2 separate regions of the Homo sapiens genome follow, and region 2 is linked to region 1. Evidence: promoter capture Hi-C in human tissues and cell types (Jung and others, 2019). All regions are on one chromosome and are shown on one strand. The core of a region is centred on a gene start or on the middle of the fragment in contact, and the rest is flanking DNA. Distances in the headings are between cores, read along the strand shown.

Evidence for each region. The method cuts DNA at HindIII sites, captures the fragments that hold promoters and counts their contacts. A contact is called where the count stands out against the background at its distance.
Region 2: a fragment that was not itself captured here is called in contact with the fragment with the promoter of RBPMS2 in region 1 in 2 of the 25 tissues and cell types used here (IMR-90 fibroblasts and spleen).

Annotation. Positions count from the first base shown.
Region 1 is chr15:64,772,577-64,778,240 of GRCh38, forward strand. RBPMS2 (RNA binding protein, mRNA processing factor 2) reads right to left here and starts at 3,013. Exons shown (of 8, transcript NM_194272.3): 1 at 2,657-3,013. The coding sequence starts at 2,743. RefSeq lists enhancers at 2,874-3,720, 3,721-4,566 and a silencer at 3,189-3,438. The HindIII fragment of the contact is 13,175 bases long and covers 1-5,664 here.
Region 2 is chr15:64,502,953-64,508,398 of GRCh38, forward strand. All of the region lies in intron 2 of ZNF609 (zinc finger protein 609), which reads left to right. Among named protein-coding and RNA genes, the nearest start is that of ZNF609, 45 kb to the left of the region's middle. The HindIII fragment of the contact is 8,439 bases long and covers 1-5,446 here.

The sequences.
Region 1 (5,664 bases), core at 1,763-4,262:
AACTCCAGGTAGTTACCCAAACAAGCCATGTGGTTACACAAACCTACCTCCTCACTTATACATGCGACTCCCTCCTCTTGGAATGCCTTTTCCACCCCCACAGGTCTAACCTTGCTCCTCCTACTCACCCACATCTCAGGGAAGGCTGACCTCTAATCTCTCAGGAGCACCATGGTACCATGTGCTCATATGCCTTTATTTTATCTATCATTGCATTTCACCTACCACCACTTCCTGGCAAGTCCTTCCGACCTCCTAGGCTGAGAATTTTCACTTGTATCCTTAACCCCTGGGTCCAGAAAGAAAACTTAATGCGTATGACATGGATAAAGCCTATAGGTAAGGTAGTCAAGCAGGCAGAGTCAAGGCTATCCAAAGCAGTTCAGGACAAGCAACCTCACTGATAACTCCCAGAACCATGAAAAATACACTCCCTTCGCCAGTGACCCAGCGCCTTTAGGAATTGAGGTCTTACGGCGTGCAGCAGCATTCCTTGGTTTCCTGGGCTTGCTCTCGCTAGTCTCCAAGAGTTGACTGGGAAGAAGCCACCTGTGTCAGCCATGGGAGTAAACCACTGCTAACGCTGATTCTCCAGATGGTTGCTCTTAGGGGCTGCAGAACTGACTGCTTAGGGAGCATCTAAACTACAGGGAGGATTCCAGTTCCAGCCTACACCACCAATCCAAGATGGAGCCACCAGCACAGGGGCTCATGGCCCACTATTCAGAAGACTAGGCCAGGGCTTGGGGAATAACCCTTTCCCTTACCAGACCAGACAGACACTGGGCTCCAGGAGACCCTCAGAACCCTTTGTTCTGGACCTCTGCTAAACGCGAGCCCACCATGCCCTTTTCCAAGTGCGCGGATTTGGAACCACCATAGGGCCGCAGGCCATCTCAACTCCCAAGGAGGAATAGTAGGGATTCCACTTTTTGAGAATCCTGCCCTCTTTCCCAGAAAAGGTACTTAGAAAGGAGTGGCTAAAACCTCAAATGCTTTTTTCAAGACTTAGAATGGCCACATGGGTCACCCTTCTCACCCAACAGCAGTGGGTCTGAGGGTTTGCCCAGTACCAGCCTCTTGGGCAGTGTGAAGTCCCCACTGAAGTAGACCCTTTAGCAGAAGTGGGGTTCTGGGTCCCCATTCAGCTTTATAGGAGACATGCTCTCCCCCAGTTTCAGCCCACAGCAGGGGGCCAAGCAGAGACTCCAAGTACGCTAGCAACCCTGTCACCCTCCCCAACTGTCAAGGGAGATTCTAACAGCCAGGTAGAGTCAGGATGGGGGCAAGATCCCCAAAGCCAAGGGCCTTTTGGCATCAAGGTACAAGGAGGGCAAGGCCTCTGGAGCCCAAACAAATCCACCACACTTAAGTCATTAGTGGACAGATGTCACAGTTGTATATTCTTCCCTTCCCCTTCCGCCAAAAAGTGGAGATCCAAACCTAGATTGTCATCGACTGGGGCTGGCTGAAGGTCTCTGAATAGCCGAGTGGGAGCTGGCGGCGCTGAGCCCAGCCCAGCCGAGGGCCACCGGCGCCATTCTGCACCAACCCCCAGCACAAGGGGAGGAGGCAACACCAGTCCACACCAGGGGCTCTGCGGTTTCTCCCCCAGGCCAAGGGGAAGGGCGCCCAAGGTGGATAACCAGCCCTTGGTTTCCTGGGCGAGAACATGCCAGGGCAGGGGCAGGAAGGCTCTCTCACCCCTAGAATGACGCAGCAGAGGCCAGAGGCCCTGCGAAGCCTGTCCCCTTCTACTCCAGTTCTTGTCTCCGCCAGCCTAGCTCCTCGTCCCTATTCACTGATATCTTTGAGGCTTTTATCCAGCACCCCACCCCGCACACACATCCTCCCTACCATCCATTAACCACCCAGCTGCTGGTGGTTCCACGGAGCCGCCTTACACTCCCTCCCTTTCGCACATGGCCGGTGGACGAGATGATTTCGCCCCTCCTGGCAGGATCCCACCCAGGCCAGCTTTGGGGTCCTGGCTTGGTTGCCAGGACAAACCCAGAGAGAGGAGAAGGACGAACTGAGTGTCTTTAGTCATCTTCCAAACTAATTAAATTGTGGGCTCACCTCTGCCAAAGCCCAGGTTCTGGGGCTGTGAAGAAAGCCCGCCCACCCCCATGACAACAGCTCGCAGGAACCGAGGAGCCGGCCGGCCCAGGCCTCCAAGGTCACGGGGAGGGGGTCAGGGCGGAAAAGGCAGTGGAGTGAGGGTGCCGCCCTCGGGCCGTGCTAATCCCGCTCCGCTCCGTGCCGCCGAGGCGGGGTCCTGGCCACGCAGGAGGTGCGCCTCGGAGGAGGGCGGCGAGCGGCTACGGGGTGGGGAGCAAGGGGCGCGCGGGCGGCAGGCATGGAACGGACGCGGCGCATCTCGCCCACCGCGGGACGCCCGGACGGCGGCCGGCGCGCGCGGCCCGCCTCGAGCCCGAGAGGGCGGGGAGACAATGCCTGTCCGGCGGGGCAGTCCAGGCCGCACGCTCCCGCCCGCGGACACGGGCCGCTCCTACCCGGGCGAGAGGGCAGCGGCGGGAAGGCGCCGGGAGCGATGGCCACCCCGGCCCCGCGAGGCGCGGCAGGCCCCGCTCGCCCTCTCCCGCGCCCGCCTGGCGTGCGCTTCACCCGGCAAGTCCCGGGGCCACAGACCCACCTCCTCCTCCAGGGCGCCGCCGGAGCCCGCGCCGGAGCCGGTGCCGGTGCTGCCGCCGTGCTCGCCGTCCGGCTTCAGGTTGCTCATGGTGCGGGGGAGGGGGCGGCGGGAAGGAACGCGAGGGCGAGCGCGGCGCCGGCCCCGCGGGAAGTGGGAAGGGGCGCGGGGAGCGGTGCGCTCGCGGGTGCGGAGCGGGTGGCGGGGGACCCACGGGGCAGTGAGAGGGGCAGCCTCCGCGTCGGGCCAGGGTCACATCAAGTTTGGCGGGTGCGGAAGGTGGGGAGGGGGTGCGGCGGGGGAGGCAGTGGGAGCCGGAGGGGCCGCCGCCTCCGCCTTTTCACTGCGACCGGCGAGTGCGCCGCGGCGGCGGCGGCGGCGGCAGCGGCGGCGGGGGGCGGGCGCCGGGGGAGGGGGCGGGCGCCGGCGGCGGGGGGCGGGGCCGGAACCGGCCTCAGCTGGGGCCCGGCCAGCCCCCTCCCCCGCCCGCCGCGCGGTCTCCGGGGGAACGCGCAGCCAATCCCCACCGCCCACCGTGGGCTCGCCCCGGCCCCGGCCGCGGGGCGCCGGCCTCCGGCCGGGCCTTTCCCCTCTCTCTCGCCTGGGTCAGCGCTCTCCCTCTCTCCTCTTCCCCCGCGCCCTTCTCCACGGCGAGTTTTTAAACTTTGATGAACTCGCCCGGCGAACTTTCTTAAAGGGGCCGCGCGCTGCGCGCCCCAGCCCGCGGGAGGTGGAGCCCCGTGCCCCGCACCCAGCGCCCCGGTCCCTGGGCGGCCCTGCCCGGGCGGCCTCGCGCTTAGGGCACCCGCAGCGAGGTTTCCGGGCCGTCGACTCCCCTTGTATCTTGATCTAGGGTTTTGGGGTTCCCGACGCACTCATTCTGCCCCTAAATCCAGTCGCGCAGACCTCAGCTCCGGGGGACCGAGTTCTGGGGGTGATGGCCGGGGGGAGGGGGTTGGGAGACACCTGAGCTTTGGCCCGGGCTGGGCGCTGTTTTGCTGAGTGACCTTGAGGAAATCACTTCCCCTCTCTGGCCTCAGGCTCCCAGCCCAGAGGGTGGGACTTAGGATCTCAAACTCCCTTCCCACTCCCAGTCACTATCTGAATAGGACTTAGGTGGGGATTCGAGTGTTGGGACCCCAATGGTCATTAGCGAGGGCTGCCTCGAATGACCAAGAAGGTTCTGTTGCCCACCTTGCCCTCAACACGCCTGGCTTTCGGGTCTTCTCGCTCCTCCCCCGACCTCAGTGCCCCTCACACCTTTCCCTGCCTCCTATTCTGAGCCCGAAGGCTGGGGACGGATGTAATAGCCTAGAGGCTGGGGGAGGTGGGGGAGGTCGTCGTGACTCCCCCCGCACCCCCGCGCAGGTCAGTAGGGCGCGGCCTCTGGGTCGGTTTTCTCTTCTATTTGAAAACCCAGCCGATGGGGGCCCGCCCTGCTGCCACAGTAGAAACCCGCACCCACCTCGGGGAGCGCTGGAAGCGCTGCAGCCTGAATCCGGCAGAGCCGCGGGAGAACTGGGTCCCTCCTCAGTGCCCCTTCTCCTGGACGGGGCGGAGGTTGCGGTGACCCGAGATCTTGCCATTGCACTCCAGCCAGGGCAACAAGAGCGAAACTCCGTCTCAAAAAAAGAAAAGAAAAAAGAAAAGCTGGATTTGCAGTCACGGACTGGTTAGGATCCCAGACCGTGGACAAGTGCCTGAGCCCCCAGAACCTCTGTGTGTCGACCTCCTGAATTAGGTAGGACTAGCACCACAGGATCACTGTGCTGTGGCTTAGTCTTCCCAGTAAATTATAATCTCCATCCTGACCTGCCATCTCACAGATAAATTGAGGCCTAGAGATGGGCAATGTCTTTCCAATGATATACTCATTCCTTTAGTAAATAATTATTGAGCACCTACTGTGGGCTGGGGACCATTTTCTGCTGGTGGCAAGGCCAAGAGCACCCTGGTTTCCCATCAGCCCTGTTGCCAACACTTGGCTCAGGCCCTATGAAGAGGGAGCTGCTGCCTGTAGGAGCCAGACCTTTACCCAGAGTTTTTAAGATGCCTCCAGCCTCAGGCATCTCCAGATAGAACCAACCTTGGGAACCCTCAGATACCCCTACCATCCTCCACAGGCCTCAGTCCAATCTGGCTGTGGGCTTGATCACCATCCCCTCCCCTAGAATAGGTCTTCCTATCAGGTTTGTCTCTAACTTTGGCCCAGGAATACTCTTCCTCTTCCTCTTCCTCCCCCGCTCCCCCTAATCAATCCAAAATCTTCCCTTCCCTCAAGATCCTGCCTTTCCCATGCTTTTTCCAGGAGAAGGAGCCTGGCCAGATTTCTGAACTCAGCCATTATATGGTTAATTTGAATTTTTCAAAGAAGAGCCTCTCATCTTGTAATTCTGGTCACCCTTCTTCTCCATTCTGGTCTCTGTTTTCTCCATAGATGGGAGAGCTAAGGCCCAAAAAGGTGACAAATGACACAGGGGCCACAACTGACCCCCATCACTACATTTCTTTTCTTTTTTCATTTTTTTTTTTTTTGTTTTGGGGGCTTTTTTGAGATGCAGTCTTGCTCTGTTGCCAGACTGGAGTGCAGTGATGCGATCTCGGCTCACTGCAACCTCCACCTCCCAGTTTCAAGCTATTCTGCCTCAGCCTCCTGAGTAGCTGGGACTACAGGAACGCACAACCACGCCCAGCTAACTTTTGTATTTTTAGTAGAGACGGTTTCCCCATGTTGGTGAGGATGATCTTGATCTCTTGACCTTGTAATCTGCCCCCATCAGCCTCCCAAAGTGCTGAGATTACAGGCGTGAGCCACCGCGCCCGGCCTTCTTTTCTTTTTTTAGAAAAAAGATCTTGCTCTGTCACCCAAGCTGGAGTGCAGTGGCACAATCACAGCTCACTCCAGCCTTGAACTCCTGGGCTCAAGTGATCCTTCTACCTCAGCCTCCCAGGTAGCTGTGATTACAGGTGCAACACCACGCCCAGCTAATTTTTTTTTTTTTTTTTTAAGA
Region 2 (5,446 bases), core at 466-2,965, 270 kb before region 1:
GGAGGCTGAGGTGGAAGGATAGCTTGAGCCTGCGAGGTGGAGGTTGCATTGAGCTGAGACGGCACCACTGGACTCCAGCCTAGGCAATAGAGCCAGACCTTGTCTCAAAAAAAAAAAAAAAGAAAGAGAGAAATTATCTATCTCATGTTCTTCTTTGTGAAGGTAGATATCTCAGGCTATGGCCTGGGAAATTTTCTGTCAGACAAGGATGTGGATTTCCCTTCATGGGATCCCACTTTTGCTCGACCATACCTTCCTCTGACAGAGTGAGCTCTGTGCTGTTTCCCAGAGTTCTAGGAGAGACCAGAGATGGCTCTTAGCAACTGCTGCTGCTCTGAATTGTTATTGAACACTTCTGCCTCATACTTCCTGCCAGCTGAAGAGATGGGGGAGGGAATGTTGAGGAATAAACAAGACAGAGCCTTCCAGCTCTTGCCTGTTCCCTTGCCTTTAGTTTGATTGATGGATTGTTAAGTTAGGGATGGAAGGGGAGGTAGGGAGGAGGGCAGGCGCCTGTCTGAGTGTCCTGAGCTTAGTGCTTATGTCGCCACTCTGACAGGCAAGAAAAAAGGAATTTACAAACCACAGATGGCAACGATCTATCTGTGCTGACTTTGTCAGGGCTTACGACCAGGAGTTTAAGGTGAGACTCCTTCTTTTCCCCCAAATCATATAAAATAGCCAAGTAGGCTCTAGTAGTTAAAGAAAGGATCTAGAAGTTTCTAACCAGAAGCTCCCCCTCACATGTCTTTAGCTGCTGCTTTTGATCTTGCAAGGTAGGAACACTGCACTTTGCTTTTCCCGTGTTTGAATGTCAGCTTCTGCTGCTTTCAGAATGCTGCATATATTTACCACTTCCCCCATTAGTTTAGGATACAAAGAAAACCATAAAGTGTGCTCTTTGCTCTTTCAACTTCTGATCATGCATGCTATCATATCCTGTGTTCTTAAGAGCATCTTCCTTTGCCATTGGTTTTGTATTCCTGCCCTAATTTGTGCCTTCTAGCTTAGTTCTCTTGTATTGTAGTCCCTCATTGCCTAACCAAGGTCAGGTCTCTTTTATTCCTTCTGATCCAAGGCTTTCTTAACGCCTTCTTCCACTAGCTGTTATTTCTCAGCTATTGATGGCAGAGCAGTCAGCTTTGCTTCCTGAAACCAAATGCCCTCAAGATTTTCCTTCATGGAAAACATTAAAAAGAAGTTGATATTTATGTGGGACAGAGTTGCATTCTGTAACTACAAGCTTAATTTATTTTTTCATTCAGAAACTCTGTTTTCCTTCTAGGTGTTGTAATTCAAGGCAGTTCCAGAGAAAGATTATCTTGTCCAATTTCCTCATTTTATAGAAGAAACTAAGACCAGTGAAGTCCTGTGACTTGCCCAGCATCTCACAGGTAGTCACTGGCAAAGCCAGATTTGTAGACACCAAATTCTTATGGCATGTTGTTACTCTGGGATTCTTAACAAATCTTTAACTGTCAGGAAGGATTCTCAATTTTCCCACTTTATTTGTTATTTTCTTAGTATTATTATTTTCGAGATGGAGACTCACTCTGTCACCCAGGCTGGAGTGCAGTGGCACGATCTCGGCTCATTGCAGCCTCTGCCTCTGATTCAAGCGATTCTCCTGCCTTAGCTCCCCGAGTAGCTGGGATTACAAGTGCATACCACCATGCCTGGCTAGTTTTTTTTTTTTTTTTTTAATTTTAGTAGGGATAGGGGTTCACCATGTTGGCCAGGCTGGTCTCAAATTCCTGACTTCAAGTGATCCACCTGCTTCGGCCTCCCAGAGTGCTGAGATTACAGGCATGAGCCACCACACCCAGCCTATTTGCTTATTTTTAAGGCAGGGTCTCGCTATGTTGCCAATGCTGATCTTGAACTCCTGGGCTTATGCACTTCTGCCTTGGCCTCACTTATGCACTTCTGCCTTGGTCTCACTTATGCACTTCTGCCTTGGCCTCGCAAGTAGCTGGGACTACAAGTGTGTGCCACCACACCCAGCCATTTTTTCAATGTAAAGACTACCTTGAAACATTAGATGAAAATGCTTACATACTCCAAAATTGCTTTTACCCCAAAACTGCTTTCACTTGTTTTTCACAGTGACTTTAACATTGTAGACACTCAATAAACAAAGGATCTTTGAGTTTAGGATTTTAGGTAAGGTAATGAATGATGTTTGCAAAGAATAACCATTACAGCTGGCACTGAACCTATCCTGTTATTTATAAAGAAGGAAAGTTACTTTAAAACTGCTACTTTGAGCTTGACTACTTATGATATATGTGTGTGTGTTCTGGAATATTTCATCCAGCCAAATTTTCATTATAATAATTGAGGAATAGTTCTTTCTTTACTTGGCAATTGCAGGTAAGAAAAAAAACCCTGTTCTAGTGCTTCTTCCTTGGACACATCACTAATAGGCAGACCTTCAAATGTATTGTGGATATTACTAAGTATTTTGTAGAGAAGATATACTGTTGGCTAATTGTTATCACTTTTCATTCAGTCAGTACATTAATTGAATGCATTTTAGATACTAGGTTTTCTACTTGGTATTGGGTATACACTGGTAAATAAAACAGAGATGGTCTCTGCTTTTTGAGGAGCTTACAGTTTACCGTCTACAGCAGAGTTCCTAAAAGTGTGTCCCATAAAACCATGTACATCACCAGAGTATCAAAAATGCACATTCTTGGACCCTACCCTAGATATGCCGAATAAGTTTTTGGGGTAAGGGCCCAGAAATCTGTACTTCCAGAAGTCTCTCCAGATAATTGCTATATACATCAAAGTTTGAGAATTTTCCTTTCAAGGTAAGTATTCGGGGCCACTTCTCATTTAAAACACCAGCCTTCTAAACTTGAATTTCACATCAACTCTTATGTATAATTTAGTGGCTAAAAGCGTAAACTCTAGCCAGGCCTCCTGGCTTGAGCCTGGGAGGTTGAGGCTGCAGTAGTGAGCTGTGATCGCACTAGTGCACTCCAGCCTGGGCAACAGAGTGAGACTCCGTCTCAAAAAAATAATAATAATAAATTTTTTAAAAAGTGTGAACTCTGGAGCCAGACTACCTGGCTTTGTTTCCTACCTTTGCACTTATTTACTGAGTGATCTTGACCAAGTTTCTTAATTGTTCTTCCTCAGTTTTCTTATCTGCAAAATGAGAGAAATAGCACCTACATAAGTTTGTATTTATTTATTTATTTATGAGAGGGAGTCTCACTCTGCCGCCCAGGCTGGAGTGCAGTGGTGCAGTCTCTGCTCATTGCAACCTCTGCCTTAACCTCCAGAGTAGCTGGGATTACAGGCATGCACCACCATGCCTGGCTAATTTTTGTATTTTTAGTAGAGACAGGGTTTCGTTGTGTTGGCCAGGCTGGTGTCGAGCTCCTGGGCTCAAGTGATCCACCCGCCTTGGCCTCCCAAAGTGCTGGGATTACAGGCATGAGCCGTCACACCCAGCCTTTAAGTTTGTCTTTAGGCCGGGCGCGGTGGCTCACGCCTATAATCCCAGCACTTTGGGAGGCCAAGGCGGGTGGATCACCTGAGGTCGGGAGTTCGAGACCAGCCTGACCAACATGGAGAAACCCTGTCTCTACTAAAAATACAAAATTAGTCGGGCGTGGTGGTGCATGCCTGTAGTCCCAGCTACTCAGGATGCTGAGGCAGGAGAATCACTTGAACCCGGGAGGCAGAGGTTGCAGTGAGCTGAGATTGTGCTGTTGCACTCCAGCCTGGGCAACAAGAGCAAAACTCTGTCTCAAGAAAAAAAAAAAAGTTTGTCTTTAGATTAAGTTAGCTAATTCATATAAAACACTTAGTGCCTGGCACGTAGGAAGCATTCAATAAATATTAGAAAAAAGAAAAATACAGTTTGAGTGGAAATTGGTCTTAGTCTCTCCTAGGCAATAATGTACTGAAATACAACAACATTCCACTTTACAGGAATCCCAGTATGAATAGATATACATGTTAGCTAAGACTTTTTAGCACTATGGTCTGAAGAAGTTCCAAATCTAGGCTGGGAAATTTTCATGGTGGTGATGTGTTCTAAAGCCCCTGATAATTATAGTTGGAGGTGGGGGGAAGACCAAAAATTAGCTTAGGGCATATTGAAGTGGCCTGTTGAATTTCAGACTTCATATGAATCGAGCTTCTTTTCTGGCCATATCCCTGGCATGGGGTTGGGTATGTTGGATAGATGTTACTGTGGTTTTGCCGGAATATGCAATCTCACGGACACTGGAGTAGTGCTAAGTGTTTTTGTTTCTACACAAGACTGCATGGAAAAAATCTAAGTCTTAGCCCTTAATCTTCCTCCCCCAGTGTGAACTTGTATTTTTGCCATTTGGGTATAAGAGCTTTTACCAGCAGAGCTCATCCAGGGAGGCAGCAGGGCTTGGGATGTGGCAGTAACATACACAGCTGAGATCCTGCCACTGCTGGCTGTCTGAGCCCTCTCTCTGTGGTTTTCACTCTTCAAGCCATGCTTGAGTAACCCGCCTCCAGAGCTGCTGACAGGGCTGTGTTCAGAGGCCTTGGAAATTACACTGTTCATTTCCTTATCATCCCCTGACCTGCAGTGCAGAGCCTTCTGGTGCAGGAACAAGGCAGAAAAAATCCAGACGGCTCCCAGCCAGCATGTGTCAAGAGCTACAAAGAAGGAAATTGGACTTGCTCACTTAAAAACCATGGGGTTAGGCTTTGATTTTCAGTTCCTGTGGAGAGTTATTTGTGTGTATGAGCATGTTGTATCTCTGTGTATATGTATAGAATGAGTCTGTGCGTGGCAAAGCTGTGGAGGAGGACCATTTGAAATAGAGAGCAGAGGGAAGATGGCTTTTCTCTTCACTTAATTTCCCAGTTGTGCCATTGGGGTGGGCCTGGAACCATTAGCATCAGGAAGGTGCCAGACCATATTAATATTTTAAAATATATTTCTCTCGGTACAGTTTAGTCATGGTTCAGAGCACCCACAGAAGAACCTTTCCTGGCTGACCGAGGAGACATTTTTAACAAATCCTATTCCCTAAAGTCATTCATCCTAGATGACATTGACATAGTCAATATTTAAGCTGCCTAAGAAAGTGTAGACTTTGGGTCAGTCCTGGGTAAGAGCAATAGCTCTTTTGAGATGAAGGATAGTGTGATAAAAGAGAGACCTTTGTGATAGCTAAGGTGAACTAAGGAGGAATTTGGAGCATTTTGAGATTTTCTGTTCACAGGGCAAAGTTCTATTATATTTTAAGAGCCCATCCTTGTTTTGGGGGTTGGTATTACAAAGCAATCTACTTTTCTTTTGGCATCTGTTGCTCAAGGAGGCCCAAAGGAAGGACTTCAGGCTGAAGTAAAATGTGAGCAGTAAGAAGTTCTTAGCAAAGTTTATAAATATTCTGTCCTTAATTTTCCTTTTTCTGGATTTCATGTGCCTTCATGTTAG